4 separate regions of the Homo sapiens genome follow, and all the other regions are linked to region 1. The links are contacts of gene promoters, found by promoter capture Hi-C in blood cells and fetal thymus (Javierre and others, 2016). All regions are on one chromosome and are shown on one strand. Each heading gives the region's core, a stretch centred on a gene start or on the middle of the fragment in contact. The rest is flanking DNA. Distances are from core to core; before and after follow the strand shown.

Region 1 (3,096 bases), core at 596-3,095:
ATATTGAAGATTACACATTTTTTAAAAGCTAGAACACTGAGCCTTCCTTTCAGACAATTCAAACAAGGAGCGTATTGCTGACACAGCAACACTGTGGTCTCAGACTGTGGGAAATGTCAAATTTATGGTCCTGGGGGTGATTGGTGGATGGTTTTGTGGTGTGTATGGTGTTTTGTTTTGTTTTGTGTGTGCTTTTTCTTTTCTCTTTTGAGTCTCTGACAGAAACAGAGCTCTACAAACTTTCTGGCGACCTCCCAGGAAAACAGAAGGAAGCTGTATCCTGTACTTCCCCTGGGATCTAATGAAATATACAGCCTCTGGGCTTCTTTCAATTTGGACTTTCAGATCGCTAAGCCAGTGAAAAGGGGATCCTAGCTGTCACAAACGTCACATGGTCAGGGTCACCTGCTGCTCGGGGGTTCTCATGCCAGTTGTTGACATAATAAGCCCCCCTTACACTTTAATTACAATTCACAGTGTGCAAACTATGCAATCTGCTTTAAGGCAGACTGTCTTTTAAATCAACACTAAAATTCTACTACTAATATGGCAATGCAATGTAGCAGAGGAAGGGTGTGTCCACATGACTAACTATATGCAGATATCTGCCGTTTGGGAGACAGTGGGTAGCATTTGCCAAAATATAAAATGGTGTTGCTGACCCCAATTCTGGGAGATGGTACTTGAATCTTACTGTGCTCTGAGACTTCTTTCCATAGGCCACAAAAAGGTAATGCAATATACTTCATGTGTAGCATTTTACATTTGTATAACTACTATTTTTTTTCACATGGCTCCATAACTGTTCTATGTACTAATCTTGCCTATCCAACAGAAGGAGTGTTGAAGAACAGTGAATTTCTACTTCCCTATTTCTTCCCCTTTAAACCTAGGGCAGTGCCAGTGATGTTTAACACATGCTTCTAGAGTTGTGTCAATGCTCTATCATTTACTGGATCCTTGTATTTTGCTAACTACAGACCTGTGTAAGCTATATTTTTGCAATCAAAACATGAAAGGTCATTTTAAAACAGAGCCCATTTAAAATGATATGACAATGCAGGGAGCTGTTTAAAAAGTGCTAACACATAATTATAGTCTACAGTTTTCTCCAAAAACAACAGTGGAAATTAGTTACAATTCTATTACAGACAACTGCTATAAACTTAGGTGGGCTAACCTCTGAATGAACTATCCCAGTACTCTGGGAATTGCAATCTCATTTTCAGTGCCACAAATGACGTAAGATGGAACACACAAAACAAACCCACACAAAGTACTTTATGTTTATGAAGTCTTACTCAAACACCTTAGCTGAGCTAACCAGTATGTCTCACTGTAAAACACCACCACCACCAGTAACAACAAAATAAATAATCAAACAAAATAGAAGAAATCCAAATAGAAAAAAAAAGTTTTAAAAATAATAATGCCTATACTTGCTTTAATGAAGGATGTACCTGAATTACAAATGCCATCATGACAGATTAAATTAGCCAATAATTAGTCACTGCTTTATTTTTTTTTAGTGTCAAACAATGGTAGATACCAAGACAAGTAACAACAAAAGGCAAAAGAGTTTATTTTATTTAGACGTGGTCATTCTAACATAAGGAGAAGATGCATTTTCCTTTCAAAAATTGAGGTCTCTTTGGGCAAACTTTCAGTCCTTTGGCTATTAGGGTTTGTCTTCATGAAGGCAGACATAAAGCAATTCTGTTCTCTTCCTTATTTGAACACTTTCAGTCTTCACCTGGCTCTCTGCCACCCCAGCTAAACCACTTGACCTCTGATTACATAACAGTCCCCATCTGTGAGCTCAGCCATCCTCAGGAGATAGGAGGGGCCATGAGAAGCTCAAGTTCACCATGAGCCACAGCAGTAAGCCATGCTTTAGCCTCTGACCTGTGCTCCAATTTTGGTACAATGATTTCTGCCATGTTCTCCAACAGGTAAGCTCTACCTCAAGGACTAACTTCTGTACCTGTATTTGGTCAAGTGCCCTAGCTCATCTGGAACTGGAGATGTTGACTTGCTTTTCCCTACCTGCCTCCCAAGAACAAAATTCTGGCACGGAAACCCAGGCTAGCACGTGGAGCCCTATGACCCACTGACAGACTTCTCTGACACTAACCTTCTGCCTGGATTACTGTCATCTGCTTATGTTCTCTATTTCTTGGTTCTGTCCAACTTTTGGGACATTGAACTGCCAGTTAGACTTCCATGTTGTATAACACTCCACTAAGCTTACCAGCCAGTGCCTATACTCAGAGCATTTGGAACATGGCTGGACTGAACTTCTTTATGGAACTTCAAAACTACCAATCCCAGAATATCAACCTTCACGTAATTTCAGGTCCTGGCCCTTTACACATCTCATCCCAAGATATAAACTCTATCTGCCAATTCCCTTTTTTTCCCTTGGTAGGTAGGAAACAAAACATCTCTAAAACTCTGTAAAGAGTAGGAATACAAAATAGAATAGAAGTTACCTTATCCAGTACTGTTAGGGCCAGTTGTTGATTGGTTAATTTGAAAAAATGGATGAAGAAGATACTCATTAATGAGACATATGCACCTTAAACATTTTAACTTTGAGCATGTGTATGTACATTCTTTGGCCAATCTTTTTATGCAGAGGCAAAAATTTAAATTTAATAATGTCTGTTAATAATTGGAGCTCCACAGCATCTTTCTTATATAATGCGTATCTATAATGCATCATAAAAGATTTCCAGTTCCATTTACTTTAAGTAGTGGGAGAATTTAAAGATATTTCTAAAATAATCTAACAAAACTCTTATTTTTACAACCTTCTCTCATCTTCTGTAGTTATCTCACTGACATGTAATCTGACAGAAATTTTTGTAGCTTGCCTTTACTGATTCTTTCCAAGGCACTGGGTTAGTTTCATAGAAATAAAACTTTTCCATTTTGAACTTGCATGCCATTGGTTCACATAAATTTAATTAAATTACACAATGGTGATACAAATAAGACTAGTATAAACAGGTCCGGAATAACACAACTGACGTGGTAAGCACACAACTGGTAAAAACAATAGTGCTAGGATGTGGTAGTAGGTAACTGTTGGCC
Region 2 (3,480 bases), core at 556-3,055, 400 kb after region 1:
TTCAAATTTCAGTGCCCATAATAAAGTTTATTGGACATAGTCATGTCCTTCATTTCTGTATCATTTATAGCTGCTTTTGTGCTATAATGGTAGAGTCGAGTAGTTATGATGGAGACCATAAGGCCTGAAAAGCCTAAAATATTTACTATCTGGTCCTTTACAGAAAAAGATTTGCTGATCCATGGCCCAGTGGATGGGGCTTGGGGCTTGGATTAAAACAGGCTTGGACTCAAATCCTGGCTGTTCAACTTCTACTGGTGTGACCTTTAGCAAATTTCTTAAAGTGTCCATGTCAGTTTGCTCATTTGCAAAATGGTAATAATAATACTTCACAGCCTTGTGAAGATTGAGGAAAATATTGTTATATAAAGCTCCTGGGAATATTAAGTGCCGAAATATACTTATTTATTAAAAATAGTTAATGACAATTTCAACTGCTTTGAGCTATTAATAACATTTGTGATAAGATAAATATGATAACATTTTGAACTGCTGTGTTCATTGCCATAATGACTGCTTTGGGAATTATCAGTCAAAAAATATTTTCTGTTAATAGATCAATGAGGAAAGAGAAAGTCATATTTGTGAGAGCGAGAGTCGAAAGCTGCTGCCAGAACTCCTCAAAATAATAATTACAGTTAAAATTAAGTGCCTGCAATGACACAATGCTGAGTACTTTACATGCATTGTCTCATCTGATCATCACTTCAAACCTATGAAGCAGCTACTGTCATTCATTTTTATAGATGGAGAGACTGAGGCTTAGAGGGGTAAAGTTAATTCAAGTTGCACAGACAATAGGAGGTACAGTCATGGCTGGAACCCAGGAGAGTCTAATGCCAAAGTTTCTGTCATAACCACTCTGCTTTTGGAAACATCTGATGAAAAGCAGAGATTCATATTTCAGGGCCCAAAACTGTTCCTGGTGGCTGGCACAGTGGCGTATCATTCTGAGTTGAGCTCTGTAGAAGTTTCCAGTTAGAAAAATGCTATTGCAACTGCCTATATTCACTCTTGAGTCAGTTTCTCAGAAGAAAGCCAGTGAGAACTACAACCAAGATTGTGTCTTGAGAGTTGTCTTATTAGGAGTGGTCTTGTATGTAATCTCTCTGTTACTTGGGTATGGGCACGTGGATGTGGCTATACTAGGGGTGGAAAAATGGGAGTATGTTTGGCTGTGTGATTGGGATAATATGTTGTAATTAATAAAATCTGTTTGGTCTCTAAGTATTATTTATAGACATGGTAATAAAAAATCAAACTATTACACACTCATACACAATAGTTTCAATTTGGTAATTGTGTGCGCATATGTATTTATTTTCAAAAAAGATGGGGAAGAACTATACCAAGATATTCAATAGGTATCTGCCTCTAGGTCAAAGAAATAATGGCAAATATTATTTTATCTATATTTCTATTTCCAGAATTTTAAATGATGTTTATGTAATTATGCATAAATAAAATATATGTGATTTGATGCTACATACCAAAAGACTTAAAACTCTTCAAATTCTTCAAATTCTTTTTTTTTGAGACGAAGTCTTGCTCTGTCGCCCAGGCTGGAGTACAGTGGTGCGATCTTGGCTCCCTGCAACCTCCGCCTCCCGGGTTCAAGTGATTCTGCTGTCTCAGCCTCCCGAGTAGCTGGGATTACAGGCATGCGCCACCACACCTGGCTAATTTTTTGTATTATTTTAGTAGATATGGGGTTTCACAGTGTTAGCCAGGATGGTCTCAATCTCCTGACCTCATGATCCACCCATCTCAGCCTCCCAAAGTGCTGGGATTACAGGCGTGAGCCACTGCGCCCAGCCAAAAATCTTCAAATTCTTAAACTCAATTCTACCTCTAGTATACTACCATACACATTGTTCAACCATTATATACACGGATATATGTTCATTTTAGTATTATTTGAAGTGGTGAACAAATTTAGAAAAAAATCTTCTGCATGGCATGACTACTTCAGAGCATATTATGTAGTCATGAAAGAAAATGTTATTTACAAATGGAAAATGCTTATGCTATAATATTGTGAAAAAAGCATGAGACAAAATTGAACATACAGAATGAGCACAATTTGGTGAAAACCCAACAATCTGTTCTTTAAGAGACAGAAGACATATTCCAGTGTTAAGAGTTGTTTATATAATTGGTAGGATTATAAATTTTTTCTCCTTTTTTGTTTCTGTGCAATTTCAAATGTTCGTTTAATTAATGTTAATAAATAATAAACAATGTTAACAAAAGTTCATTAATAAATAATGAAAACAACTTTGATATTAAAAAACCATTGAAACTGGAAATCTATTGGCTGGTGATTAGGCTTAAAAACTCCCTCTCCTTCCATAGCTCATTTGTGGGTACCTTCATCTGTTTCCTTTTATGGTTATCTGGGTGTTTTCCAGATTAGGCACAAGAACTTTAATGAAAATGCAAAGAACACTGAGCTGGGAATCAGGAGATGTGGATTGTAGCCAGGGCCATGCCATTAACTCACTGTGTGCTTCGGGGTGAATCCATTTTCCTCCCAGGGCCTCAGTTTCTGTGTCTATAAAATGAGGAGCTCTGGTTCCCTCCCACCCAACACAACTCAACACACACAGTTCTACTTTTATGGTTTTGTTATTGGGTTTACTGGAAAATTTTAAGTGAAAAATTATTCCTCTGTTAGTTAAAGTTTGAAAAACCGTTGGAATGGATGATCTAGATTAGTATAGATGACTAACTGCTTTTAGATTGTAGCTATTGTTTATATCTCTCTTTAAAAATTTATTTTTTATTGTGTTGAAAAACATAAAATCTACCTTATTAACCATTTTTAAGTGTACAGCATAGTATTGTGAACTATATACACATTGTTGTACAGCAGATCTCTAGAACTTTTTCATCTTGCATGACTGAAACTCTATGACCATTGATCAGCAACTCCCCATTTTTTCCTAACCCCATCCACTTTGAGGTTTTTAATTACCGATCCAATTTTCTTACTAGTTATAGGTTTGTTCTTACTAGTTTAGGTTTGTTCTTTTTATTTCTTCAGCATTCAAACTTGGTAGGTTAAATGTTTCAGGAATATCCATTTCTTCCAGGCATATAATTTGTTGGCATATAATTTTTGTTAGTTATATCTTACAATTATTGTTATTGATGTAGCATCAATTGTAATATTTCCTCTTTCATTTTTGATTTTATTTAGGTCTCCCTCTTTTTTTCTTAGTATAGCTAAAGGTTTGTCATTTTTGTTGATCTCTTAAAAAGCCAACTCTCAGTTTCATTGATTTCTTTCTGTTGTTTACTATTCTCTATTTCTGTTATTTCTGTTATAATCTTTGTTTTTTCCTTCATTTCTGCTATCTTTGGTTTTAGTTTGCTTTTATTGTTCCTTATAGTTCTTATAGTTCCTTAAGATATAAAGTTAGGTTATTTATTTGAGATCTTTCTTCTTTTTTAATGTAGGCATTTATCACCACAAAC
Region 3 (3,600 bases), core at 1,101-3,600, 490 kb before region 1:
CGGGGTAAAACAATCTAGGACTTGTGATTGGCATCAGAAGTGAGGGCAGTCTTATGGGATCTGACACTATCCCCAGGTAAATAGTTTCAGAATCGAACTGTTAGATGCTCAGCTATTGCTTGATGCAGAACTGATGGGCCCACACATTTATTTGGTCACAGAAGTCCTCAGTGTTGACTGTAGTGGTGTGAGAGCAGAGGAAAAAGTTTGTGTTTTTTCTCTTACTCCTAATAGGATCTGGACTAGTAAGGGCAAATCTCTTCAGAACTCATTTTATAAGTTCTATCCATAAGTATTTCCATATTTATTAACTTTGTTATTATCTTTGTGAAAGTTGCAGATACCAGGTCAAAATCACTTTTTGTCAAACCCAAACAAACTAGAGAGCCTGAGGGAGAAAGCTCATGCTTGCAAGTCTGAGATAAAGATCGGTCTCAAGAAGGAACTAAAATAACCACCCAAGAAATTCTTTCTTTAGGAATGCAGTAATTCAGATAAGATAAGATAAGATAATCTTTTTTCCTTTTTTTTTTTTTTTTTTTTTTGAGACAGGGTTCTTGCTCTGTCACCCAGGCTGGAGTGTAGTGGTGCAAACACCACTCACCACAGCCTCCATCTCCTGGGCTCAAGCAATTCCCCTGCCTCAACCTCCCGACACACCTGACTATTTAAAAAGCTTTTTCTGTAAAGACAGCCATGTTGCTCAGGCTGGTCTCCAACTCTTGGCCTCAAGCGATCCTCCTGCCTAAGCCTCCTAAGTAGCTGAGATAACAGGCATGAGGCAGGTTGCCAGGCCTGATAAGATGCTCTCCATAACACCTGCCCAGTAATGGCATCTTCAACAATGGCCAACTCTGGCTTTCAGTCTGCAAAACCAATAAACTCTGTTTTCACGCAGCTTATCTGCACTTACTTTGCCAATAAAAGTTTCCTTTTACCCTCCCCTCTTCCATGCATATATGGCTTGCCAGGCCTGTGCACCTCGGGCTATAACGCTCATTTCTCATTCCCAAATAAATTCAACACATTTGGAGTGTTTTGTTGTTGTTGTTATTGTTAACATCTTAAAGGCCATTAGGGGCCCTAAAAACATCAAAGCTCACTTTAGCTAAAAGGCTCAATCTCACCTAACATTTTCTAATGCTGCAAACAGATTTAAGTTTTTAACCGCTGCCCCTGCCTCCACTCCTTTCAAATAGATGTGTGCAAATTAATTTGCAGCCAATAGGAATTTAGCCCAGAATGTGGTAGTATCATCCTCAGTGGAACCGACATTGTCCTTCTGGGTTTCCAAAGGCTTCTGCCTTCCTTTAAGAAACACTTGTCGCGCACCTACCAATAGCCAGACCCTAAATGCAGTCGAAAAATAAGGCCCTGAAAGGGGCACCCTCTAAATGGCAGAGGCAAGCCAGTAAACAACCAACTGGAATTCAAAGTGACAAGAGCCACTTGGAAATATGACAAAGTGCCAAGTGAAGGGGTGTTCACTTAATTCGGCCTGCGTGCGGGACGGCTGGGGCGCTTTGGAGAGTGGGAGTGATCTGAAAATGCTTTCCTGAGCTTGATTTAAAAGCAGGAGTCCAGGAATTTCCCCTAAGGCTGGAAGCACTTTCCGACAGAACCTCCCCATCTACGCAGCAAGGCTGGCAGAGCCCAGGGCCTGACCGCTGGCTTGGGAACCTCCGCTACGGGATGACCAGGCGCCGCGACGCGGCCGGGCCCAAGTCGCCCCCTCAGCCCGGCTCTGAGCACCCCCTCCTCTTTGTCCCCTCACCCCGTTCCCTCCTTCCACGGCCACCGATGGAGGGAAAGACTCCGCCCAGCTCTGGGAGCGAAACAGGGGCACCGATCTGGGCGCAAAATAGGATCCGTGCCACCCCCGAATACCAGTGGGCCGAGATTCGAGGCCCGAAAGGCCTGGGGAGGCGGGGCGGCGCCCCTCCCTGCCCGCGGCCTCGGCGAGCCCTGCGCGGCGGGGCGGGGACCACCGTGGGGTCACCCGGGCCCGACGCAGGAGGACGGCGCCCCCGCCCCGCCTCCCGGGTCAGCGCGGACGCACGCCGCGGGCGCCCCATCCTCGCCGCGGCCCCTCTGAGCGCCCGGCGGCGCCCTCCACCTCCGGCTCCCACCCACTCCAGGCGGGCGGGCGGGGAGAGCGCGGGGGCAGGGCAGGCAGGCCCGGGAAGCCCCGAGGGAGCTGCCCCCGGCCGGCCTCCAGGCGCGGGGACACCCAGGGGCGAGCGCGCACTGCACAGCCGGGACCTCACGCTTTACCTGGTGCGCTGGAGGAGCAGGTGGGAGCCCGGGTCGGGCGGGCTCGGTGTCGGCCCTGCCTCACCTGGGCGGAAGTGAGAGGCCCAGGGTGACCGCGCCTCACCTGGCAGGCCCTCCCCTCGCCCCGACTCTCCCCGCCCGGGGCGGGGCACCGGGGTGGCGCAGGGGGCGGGGGAGGGAGCCCGGGGCCGCGGGAGGCGGGCTCCAAGGAGGGAGGACGGTTGCCCTGGCTGTTTACGTGCAGGTGAATTCCTACCGGGCGCGGGATGGCCAAGGGCCTGGGAAAAGTGGGCTGTGGGGGCGGGGTGGCGGATCAGACCGCGCGTGGTGGGGACAGCCGCCACTGACGGGGAGGGAGATCCGGACAGACCGGTGTGGTTGGAGGCCTGCGTGTAGAGCGAGACCCAAGATCAAGGAAATTGAGGAGGATATCGATGAAAGCGTTGGGTCAATCCGCTTAACACTTTGTCTTTTTGCCCCTTTCCTTTCCTGTTCTCTCATCCCTCCTTTGTTTTCTCTATTCGCTGACGCAAAATAAAATATTCTAAAACGTGTAAATGTGGGAGTCATTATTTTCTTCTCATTTAGTGGAAGAAAGAAATCCAGCAGTATTTGCCTGCTGTATGCTAGGTGCTAGCTTATGCAATGTCTCATTTACTCTCTGAAGAAACTAATGAGGAAACCGTGCACCCTGTAGGTTGACTGGCCCAAAGTTTGGAACACAGGCAAGGCATTTTGACTCTAACTACAGTGATGATTTCACTATACGTTAATTTTCTTTTATTTGTGATGTCACACCTTCGAGAAAAATATGTCCCGATAGCCTTCTTCCACTCCCTTTAATAACTTTAGGCTTTTGATGATAGGGGTTTTACTTTGCCTGATACAGTCCACACATTAACGATAAAGAGAATCAATCTTCAGGTATCTTATTCATAGAGTACATACAGTAATTGTTAAACACTGTGATTGATTGTGGGAAGATGTGTAAAATGGTATCCCTGTCCCCAGGAAGATGAGGAATAGATACAAAACAACTACAACATAAAGACTTTCAGGCGGGGCGCGGTGGCTCACGCTTGTAATCCCAGTACTTTGGAAGGCCGAGGCGGGTGGATCACCCGAGGTCAGGAGTTCGAGACCAGCCTGACCAATATGATGAAACCCCGTCTCTACTACAAATACAAAAATTAGCCGGGTGTGGTGGATGCGTAGTCCCCTCTACGCAGGAGGCTGAGGCAGGAGAATCACTTGAACCCAGGAGGCAGAGGTTGCAGTGAGCCAAGATCCTGCCACTGCACTCCAGCCTGGGTGACAGAGAGAGAC
Region 4 (3,228 bases), core at 484-2,983, 330 kb before region 1:
AGAAAACAAATCTTTCTCTTGAGTGTTCTAGCCTCTGCAAAGCATCCCCTTGTTCTACCTATTAAACCTCTGCCACAAATATAAAAATAATGTGGTGTTGATTGGTGTAGGGGGGCAGAAATGTGAAATTGATTTACTTTAGAAAGGAGAGAGATCTACTAGCCACCAGAGGAATAAATCCAGAAAGCGGGGAATGGGGCTGGGGTGAAAAGACAAGTGTTCTTGTAGTTGAGCTTAAGAGAGTTTGGGAGGAATATGGAAAGAGGGAGGAAAAAAATTAGGAGGAGAGAGCCATAAACGTGTGATATATATGACTTGAGAGAGATAGGGAAAGGCAATTTTAAGATGTTTTGCTGTGCATTTGGGATTCCGTTTGATAGGCTTCAAGAGAGTTCAGTAAAGATTAAAATTGCCTTACAATTATTTGTATTTCTTCGACTGGAAAGCCGCCTAAGTCACAAGCACACACTGTTGGTGGAATCAACCCCCTTTCCTTTCCCGTTTGTCTAGGTGGTAAGGTAGGACTCAGATAATTTCTTTCAGGAAAAGCCATCCCAGTGTGTCCAGTAGGTTACACAAAACATAATTAGCATGCTAACCCTCATATGCAATTTCTCATTCCTAATGGGCAGCCTCAGACTTTTTGAATTTTTTTCTGTAAGTTCACCAAAAATTAAGCATCACAGTAAGACAGCTCTCTGATCCGCAGCAACTTGGGATGGTGATATCACACTGTTTTCTTGTATCATCCCCTGTGCTTATGCTGGGTGCATGACAGGGCTAGGAGGTGTTTGATGGAATTGGGGCTCCTAGTGGCCTACTCTCCTAGTGTCTTACTTGAGACAAGAACTGTTATGTCTTGGAGAAACTTATATGAGTTTGATCCTGGGGTCATGACGATCCCACAGGCCAGCCAGTTCATGCTTCCATGCTTGTATGCATACTTTTCCTTCTGCTGGACTCCCCTTACCCTGACCCATCTCTTTGCCAGCCAACCAGACTTCTGGTCTTCTTAGCAAATTCCTACTCTAAAGTGAAGACTGTTGACATGTCCTGGCCTCTGTGAAACCTGCTCTGGCCACTCACCCACACCCTCTTGTACATAACTCACCCCTAGTACAGCTATGTTGTGTTCCTATCTACCTTTCTTATTTTTTTCTTGTTTATTATTATTATTTTTGAGACTGAGTTTCGTTCTTGTCACGCAGACTGGAGTGCAATGGCATGATCTTGGCTCATTGCAACATCTGCCTCCCAGGTTCAAGTGATTCTCTCGCCTCAGCCTCCTGAGTAGCTGGGATTACAGGCACGCGCCACCATGCCTAGCTAATTTTTGTATTTTTAGTAGAGGCGGGGATTCATCACATTGGCCAGGCAGGTCTTGAACTCCTGACCTCAGGTGATCCGCCTGCCTCGGCCTCCCAAAGTGCCGGGATTACAGGTGTGAGCCACCATGCCTGGCCCCTATCTACCTTACTACAGTGAAGACACGAATTATCTTTCCATCTTTGGTGCCCAGCACAGTGCCTGATACGCAGGTGATGCTCAGTATATGACTGGACAAAGAGCTGTTATGTGACTTGTCATTCCATGCTAGGGAAGCCCAGCTCTCGAAAAGCCATCACTTTCCAAGAACTCTACCTAGAATTCAAACTAAAGGAAGTGCCAGGGAATTCAATCAATAACTCATGCTACTGGTTACAATATGTATGTCCCAGTCTTCAATTGCATTCTTGGAAGGAAGCTCACTCAAATTCACAGAAAATGGAGGAAAACATCCCAGTGAAATGACTTTCTGTTCATTAGAGCTGCAGGAATATGGTTCTCAAAGCCTCCGGTAATGGAAATTTCTGTCCCTATACTTCTGTTTCTGCCATGAATTATCCTTTGAATTAAAACATATATATATATATATAAACATATATATAAACATATATGTAAACATATATATATAAAATAGTACTCAATGCTCATTAAAGAAAATTCACAAAATAGAGAAAAGCAGAAAATAACAAAATAGTTTTCAATCAGTCTCACTATTTACATAGTGTAACATTTTAGAGTGTGAATTACTCTCTTACTTATGGAATTTAATAAAAACCAGATGACAGCTAGTGCTGTCTGCTAAAATCAGGGCCAGATTCACTAGAAAACACATAGGTGGATTTCATAGTTGGTTCCTGCAGCCACATGCAGGGAGTGCCTGTGGGCACACCCTGGCAAGCAATACTGGGCGGGGGAGCTGAGTTCCCGGAAAGGGTGAATTAGCACGGTTGGGTGCCTTTGCGTGATCCTTATGGGGCTTTGTACGGTGCCAACCCCTGAAGTCATGACAAGCCTCAGACCATAGTTCCTTCCAGATCCCATTCATACAATTACTAGTCAATCCTCCAGGCTTCAGTGATGGACACGAAGCCCTTCGTAAAAATCAGACCTCCCTAACAGCCTCGTGAGCTTTGTTACCTGTTTCCTAGACTGAACTTGCCTTGTGCTGCCACAATCCATGAACACTGGCATCCAGCACAACACTTTTCCTTCGGACCCTTAGTGGCAACTCAAGCACTATCACTTGTTAAGGTAATGGGACACACAGCGCACCAGAATGAAAAAGAAAACATGGCAGAAAGATGAAACCTTGTTGAAGTAAACAAATCAAGGCAGCTTTCAGACTGAGAGAGTGGCCCACCAGGATGCCTTGCCAGAGAGTTGGCGCTTCTTTATGTGCATGGGATGACCAGCCCTGAGAAAGCACACGCTGACTTGACACTACAATGGATTTATGCATGTGCATATATACTTGTTTTATTTAACCTAAGAAGTATTTCTGAGCCCAGAGTAATGAATCAGCACTGTATGTAGACAGAGTTTACCTGTCTCTTTCCCAGGTACTTTAGCACTCTTTGCCAGGTACTGTACTAGTAGCTGGGGACACAAAGATGCATATATGCATATGACAGTCCAGCGAGGGAGGCAACTGTGCAACTGTGTGGAGGGAAAGGGATCGCATATTTATCGAATGCTTACTCTGTGCCAGGCATTGTGCTAGGTGTTTTATAAAATTAGCACATTAAGTCTTCTCAACAAAATGTGAATCAGGCATATTTCTTTTTATTTACAAAAGAAGAAACTGATGCTCAAAGAGCTATTAACTTTCCCAACTCATACTGCTGGAATTTTTATTTTGTTTTGTTTTTTCAGACAGGGTCTCGCTATGTTGCCCAGGCTGAT

What was found. The method cuts DNA at HindIII sites, captures the fragments that hold promoters and counts their contacts. A CHiCAGO score of 5 or more calls a contact.
Region 2: a fragment that was not itself captured here is called in contact with the fragment with the promoter of NFIA-AS1 in region 1 in 1 of 17 cell types (monocytes); the score reaches 5.6 in monocytes.
Region 3: the fragment with the promoter of PATJ here is called in contact with the fragment with the promoter of NFIA-AS1 in region 1 in 9 of 17 cell types (M1 macrophages, monocytes, M0 macrophages and 6 more); the score reaches 11.8 in M1 macrophages.
Region 4: a fragment that was not itself captured here is called in contact with the fragment with the promoter of NFIA-AS1 in region 1 in 1 of 17 cell types (M2 macrophages); the score reaches 5.4 in M2 macrophages.

The regions. Positions count from the first base shown.
Region 1 is chr1:61,252,267-61,255,362 of GRCh38, reverse strand. NFIA-AS1 (NFIA antisense RNA 1) reads left to right here and starts at 1,845. Exons shown (of 4, transcript NR_104180.1): 1 at 1,845-1,952. All of the region lies in intron 2 of NFIA (nuclear factor I A), which reads right to left. The HindIII fragment of the contact is 2,782 bases long and covers 1-2,248 here.
Region 2 is chr1:60,851,154-60,854,633 of GRCh38, reverse strand. No RefSeq gene overlaps it. Among named protein-coding and RNA genes, the nearest start is that of NFIA-AS2, 120 kb to the left of the region's middle. The HindIII fragment of the contact is 4,630 bases long and covers 1-3,480 here.
Region 3 is chr1:61,741,230-61,744,829 of GRCh38, reverse strand. It overlaps PATJ (PATJ crumbs cell polarity complex component), which reads right to left and starts at 2,350. Exons shown (of 44, transcript NM_001350145.3): 1 at 2,275-2,350. It overlaps PATJ-DT (PATJ divergent transcript), which reads left to right and starts at 2,046. Exons shown (of 1, transcript NR_185910.1): 1 at 2,046-2,832. RefSeq lists a silencer at 1,889-2,598. The HindIII fragment of the contact is 6,850 bases long and covers 679-3,600 here.
Region 4 is chr1:61,584,911-61,588,138 of GRCh38, reverse strand. No RefSeq gene overlaps it. Among named protein-coding and RNA genes, the nearest start is that of TM2D1, 140 kb to the left of the region's middle. RefSeq lists an enhancer at 1-378. The HindIII fragment of the contact is 3,726 bases long and covers 1-3,228 here.